Linked DNA regions of Homo sapiens: region 2 is linked to region 1. Evidence: promoter capture Hi-C in human tissues and cell types (Jung and others, 2019). All regions are on one chromosome and are shown on one strand. The core of a region is centred on a gene start or on the middle of the fragment in contact, and the rest is flanking DNA. Distances in the headings are between cores, read along the strand shown. Region 1 holds the start of INO80C (INO80 complex subunit C). Region 2 has its middle 36 kb from the start of ZNF24TR.

The links. Contacts are between HindIII fragments. The study calls those that stand out against the background at their distance.
Region 2: a contact is called between a fragment that was not itself captured here and the fragment with the promoter of INO80C in region 1, in 2 of the 25 tissues and cell types used here (IMR-90 fibroblasts and liver).

The regions. Positions count from the first base shown.
Region 1 is chr18:35,496,470-35,499,350 of GRCh38, reverse strand. INO80C (INO80 complex subunit C) reads left to right here and starts at 1,391. Exons shown (of 5, transcript NM_194281.4): 1 at 1,391-1,632. The coding sequence starts at 1,477. RefSeq lists enhancers at 1,214-1,483, 1,834-1,953, 2,224-2,373. The HindIII fragment of the contact is 7,991 bases long and covers 1-2,881 here.
Region 2 is chr18:35,429,919-35,432,799 of GRCh38, reverse strand. No RefSeq gene overlaps it. Among named protein-coding and RNA genes, the nearest start is that of ZNF24TR, 36 kb to the left of the region's middle. RefSeq lists a silencer at 364-577. The HindIII fragment of the contact is 7,027 bases long and covers 1-2,881 here.

The sequences.
Region 1 (2,881 bases), core at 142-2,641:
TAGCTTTAGATGAGGATAGGGATGGAGATGGGGTGTGGGAAAGAACATTTCAACACTGGTAGGCTTATTCCTTTCTCTAAAGGAAAAAATATGTCAGTAACAATATTGCAAGTTTCCCTAACTGCTCCTTCTCTCTCACCTCTAAGTCATTGTGCAGCCTGTTTATTTCAAATATCAAGACTCATATACATCAACTTCCTGTATTCAAACATAGTAGCTTCCACCAATCACTGCAGGGAGTTAGTTCATTCGTTAAATACATCATTAAAAATACTTATAATGCACCAATGACTTGCAAGGTACTGTGATTGGGGGGACTGATAAGTTAACAAGACATAACTGACCCTTCCCTCATACAGATTACATTCTAGCAGGAGCCAAAAAAGACATTAACCATCCGATTATAAATCATTTAGTTATATGATGTCGCAAAGGTTCTGTAAAAATATAGGGTAGAATGAGGCAAAGAACAAGGCGGGTAGGGGGACTCAGGTTCCTAAATAGGTTTTAGTAGATCTGTGACCTCCCTGAAATCTGTAAAATTTTGTCTGTGTCTGTATACATTTAATGGGGTGGTGGGGAGGTGGGGGTGTGCGGCAGGGATAGGAAGCACAGATTCCATGCTCAAGAGTCTGTGAATCCTAAGAGATTAAGAACCGGCCGGGCGTGGTGGCTTACGCCTGTAATCCCAGCACTTAGGGAGGCCGAGGCGGGCAGATCACCTGAGGTCGGGAGCTCGAGACCAGCCTGACCAACATGGAGAAACCCCGTCTCTACTAAAAATACAAAATTAGCCGGGCATGGTGGCACATGCCTGTGATCCCAGCTACTCGGGAGGCTGAGGCAGGAGAATCGCTTGAACCCGGGAGGCGGAGTTTGCAGTGAGCCGAGATCGCGCCATTGCACTCCAGCCTGGACAACAAGAGCGAAACTCCGTCTCAAATAAAAGAAAAAAAAAAAGGGAGAGATTAAGAACCACTCTACCCTTCATGTCCATTTGGGCGCTATTTATATACAAACCTTTTCCGCGTGGGAAGGCAGGGAGGGATAGAGGGAGAAGCCAGTAGCTTGGCGGTCTACTGAGAACGACCCCAGCTTTAGGCTTACAGACATCAAAAGTAATCACTCTTCTATATGAGAAAAGACAACACGCTCATTAATTTTTTAAAACGTAGTTACTTAAAAAGATTGGGAGATTTTCTATTCCTCTATCAATGGGGATTTCCAGGCACGTGCCCCACCCAAGGCCCACGCCCAGAGCGCCCGAGTGGCAGGACAACGCCCGCTGACATCTTCCCGTCCCGACGGCACAGGCTACTCCGAGCTCCGCCTTTTAGATTGCACCGAGAGAAGCCAGCTACAGCTTGGAGTCCAGGCCGGGTTTTCAAGCATCAAGACGGAAGTAACAGCGGAAAGGAAGTTCCAAGGCCCGCGCTGGGAAAAAGGTGGGGGGACCAGGGGAAGACTCGGAGTGCGATGGCGGCGCAAATTCCAATTGTGGCCACCACTTCCACTCCCGGAATAGTCCGGAACAGCAAGAAGAGGCCGGCCAGCCCTTCCCACAATGGCAGCAGCGGCGGGGGCTATGGCGCCAGTAAGAAGAAAAAAGCGTCCGCTTCCAGCTTTGCGCAGGTACGCAGTCGCGCTCCCAGGCTGCGCGTGCGCGTCGCGAAACGGGACTTGGCGGGGCGGAGCCGAGCCAGGGCGCGTGCGTAATGTGGGGCGCTGCGCGTGCGGTCTCCGTTGGGGTTGAAAGACGCTGCCCCGCGGAGTGAATGACTACTCTTTCCCTTCGTTTGGACACATGGGCTTACAACGCCTTGTGTTGTAAGGAGAGAAGAAGAAGTAGGGAGGTTATTACTGACTTAGTATTAATAGAAGGACTGCCTCTTCCCCTCGAGGTCGCCTTTAGCATGAGGTTCAGGACTAATGAGTGTCAGTCATTCAGAAATTTGCGTGTCTTCCCCTCGTCCATTCTGCAGACATCTACCCAGTGTCTTTGAGGCGCATAGCGCTGTAATGTCCTGCATGGATGAATACAAGATGTATTGATAAGTATGCTTTCTCTCATCCTGAGAAAAGTGCTTTTTTGACCCTGGGTTTCCCAATCCAAAGGCAGGTTTGGTCTTAACTCATGGGCTTGTTAAGGTTATGAAGTAATGAGTGTAAAGGCACTGAGCTCAGCGCCTGGCTCAGACGTCAGGGCCTCTGAACAATCTAGGTTCCGTAATTCCAGCAATGAATTTTCAGCAGGGAGTGGCTTGATTAGTGTTTTCTCTGGCTCCTGCATTTTATTCAAAGCAAAAAAGCAGAGATAGAGTGTGTTACTTTGTGCTCCTCAGCATATGGTGTGACACCACCGTTCACCCAGTCAGTCAGTGGCTGTTCTAGAAATCTTGTTCCTTCTTCTGTAGGTGATTGGTAGTGCTTTTTATTTTAACCTTTTAATATTAAATACTTTGCTATAGTAAGATTTACACAGAGTACAATGCACAAATTTTCAAGAATACTGGCTGAACCACAGATCTTCAAGAATCCTGTCTCACGCCTGTATCCCAGCACTTTGAGAGGCCAAGGTGAGAGGATTGCTTGAGGACAGGAGTTCGAGACCTGCTCCCCAACCCCCATCCAAATTTACAAATAGCTGGGCGTGATGGTGCACGCCTTTAGTCCCAACTACAAGAGCATCACTTAAGCCCAAGATTTCAAGGTTACAGCGAGCTATGATCGTGCCATTGCAGTCCAGCTTGGGCAACAGAGTGAGCCTATCGCAAACAAAACAAAACAAAACAAAACTACAGATCCAGTGCCCTTTTACATTTGTATACACCTATGGCCACTGCCTGGATCAAGATAGCATTTCTAAGAGCAGGTGACATTT
Region 2 (2,881 bases), core at 225-2,724, 67 kb after region 1:
TAGAAGGAGCTGAAATTTAGACATGTGATTCTCATTACCAGCTACATCCTTTCAGACAGGAGGCAGAAATAATTGGATCCATTTCTATTTTAATTATAACTCTTTGGCTTTAAAGAAATTGCCAGTGGAAATCTGCAGGCCACTACAAACACTGCCGTTTCAAATTCCCCAGATTTTAATGTGGCCTGGATTTCCTTCAGCAGGGCTGAGGCCACTGCCACAATACATGTTTGCTGCTGTTATAGACTAAAAGTTTTCCCCAAACAAAAATGAACTGATCTCTCTCTTTCTGCCTTTACCTCCCCCTCCCTCCCTCATTCTATTTTTCCTTTTGAAATAAGTAGAAAGACCTTTTATATTTTGCCAACCACAAAAAATAGGAAAGAGAAGGAAGCTTTTCACCACGAATGACAGTAGAGTGCTGGCACACGGCGCTTCCTTTCTGTTGCCCTTAGGTGTCTGAAGTGGTCCCCCAACCTCTCTAAAGTTTCAGATTGAGGAATAATCATGAGTTCTGAGAAGTGCTTGAAACTGGAGGATGGGGTCCCAGTGAAGTCAAACAGCACAACCAACACTGAAACCTCTGCAGTTGAACCTCATTAGAGCTGGTCCTCCTCACTTTCTTCCCATCAGTCTCTCTGTCTCAAAGACATTCTTGGCAGAGTTGGAAGGGAATTCCAGCAAGATAATACCATCCAGTGCCCAAGGCAGGGGATGCAGTGTCCATGTGGCCCCCCAAAAGATCACTGCTCCCATGTTCCTGAGAGAGGAACCTGATGGATATCTGAGGTCCCCATGCCAGTCCTCTGATATTGGCCCCACTGAAGAGATTGGTGGCTTGTTGACCACAGCCTGCCCAGGATAAAGGCTGGACTAGTCTTACTTTTGAAGCTGAGCAAATAAATATAGAAGCACAATCCATGCTGTGGCCACAATTTTGTTTTAAATTAAAATTTAAAACAAATTTTAATTTAAATTTGTTTTAATGTAAATTTAAATCCCAAAAACAAATGGCCAGAGACATGCACCATTGTTGGCTTTGAAGATGAAGAAGGGGCCATGAGCCAAGATAAAATGGTTATGTATGCTCGAATGTTTTGCTTGCTCTAATTTGCCCTGCACTTAAATGCTTTACTCAAATTCACTAAAATATAATTCAATAAGTCTTTAAAAGTCACTTTAGTAGGGAAGTAGAACAGCGTTTGTTTATTTGGTTGCTTTCTTGATTTATGCACATATGCAAATAGAAATGTGAGGCATGCATGGAACACGTACACACACACACACACCCTCCAAGAAATAAACATAGCAAAGCATTGCTGTTTAATTAAACTAAACACAAGGTTTGCACCACGTTAATAATACAACTTCCGAATACACAAAGTATATACGTGAGAATGCCAAAGTGTTAGTATTTGGAAATGTTACTGTTTGAAAACCTTACATTCAAGAGGTTTTAGCATGAGCAATAAGCAGCAAGGAACAAGTATAGATAACTGTGTGAGTATGCATGTGCCAGCAATGTCTGGCAATCAGCTATCCAAAAACAAGGAAGTCTGGGAGATAAACCCTTGTTTACAAAATGACAATCTTTGCCTAGAAATGATGCCCAAGAGACAGTTGTGCGTCAACCAACCACAAGCGGTTTTGTTCTTGTTTTGTTTTTTAGGTTTTCCCTTTTCCACACATTCTCTAATAAATCTGAACAAACTAACTTTGACATTTCCTAATGTTTCAAAAAAGGAAGTAAGCTAAAGTCATAAAACACCTTGCTCAACAATAATTTTCTTGGGTTTTTAATCTTGCTTGGAACAGATAGGCGTGATTCACATCCAAGTCAACATGGCCTTTTGTAAGCTGACTCACAGAGAGGGGATGCTGGGGACCCTACCCTCATCCTGGTGGCTCTTCTCTATTTGAGCCCCAGCAAAGGCCACCAGCAGTGGGCACCAGCCACCTTATCAGATGGGCCAAAGACTTGTTGTCATCACTGATTTACATTTCTATAATTTTTTTAAAGTTACATAGTGATTTTTTCCATCAACGAGGGCCCATTTGGCATTACTGAATCTCTGTTTAGAGAGAAAAAGGAAGGGCCTTTTCCTTCTCCAAACAAATTCTGAATGCAGCCAAGACTGGCAAGTCATGCAAAGGAGTTTCTCAGTTTGCCTTGCACCTTTTTGTGAAGATTTCATATCTCTTTTATTTATGATAGTGACACTGGAAAACTTTCCTTGAAGTTTCTTATGCAGAACTTGAATCCCTTCTCTCATGGTTTTTCCAGTCCTGTTATTATTGGCATCTCCTGGCTCCTACCCCTAACCATATGCCTAAAACCTATGGATAAATAATTGAGGAGGGGACTGTGGCAGACACCCCCTCAAAAATGTTCATGTCCTAATCCCTGGTACCTGTGACTGTGTTAGGTTACATGGCAAAGCAGAATTAAAGTTGTGGATGAAATTACGGTTGCTAGTGAGCTGATGTTAAAACAGAGAGAAAAATCTAGATTATTCAAGTGGGCCCAATATAATGTTAAGGGTCCTTAAAAGTGAAAGAGACAGTCAGAAAGGAAAATGTAAATACCAAAACAAATGGCCAGAGACATGTACCATTGTTGGCTTTGACGATGAAGGAAGGGGCCATGAGCTAAGGAATGTGGTGGCTTCTAGCAACTGGAAAAAGCAAGGAAACACATTCTCCCCTAGAGCCTCCAGAAAGGAAGCAGGCCTGCTGTCACTTTAATTTTAGCTCACTAAGACTGATTTGGGCCAGGCGTGGTGGCTCACGCCTCTAATCCCAGCACTCTGGGAGGCCGAGGCAGGTGGATCACCTGAGGTCAGGAGTTTGAGACATCCTAGCCAACATAGTAAAACCCCGT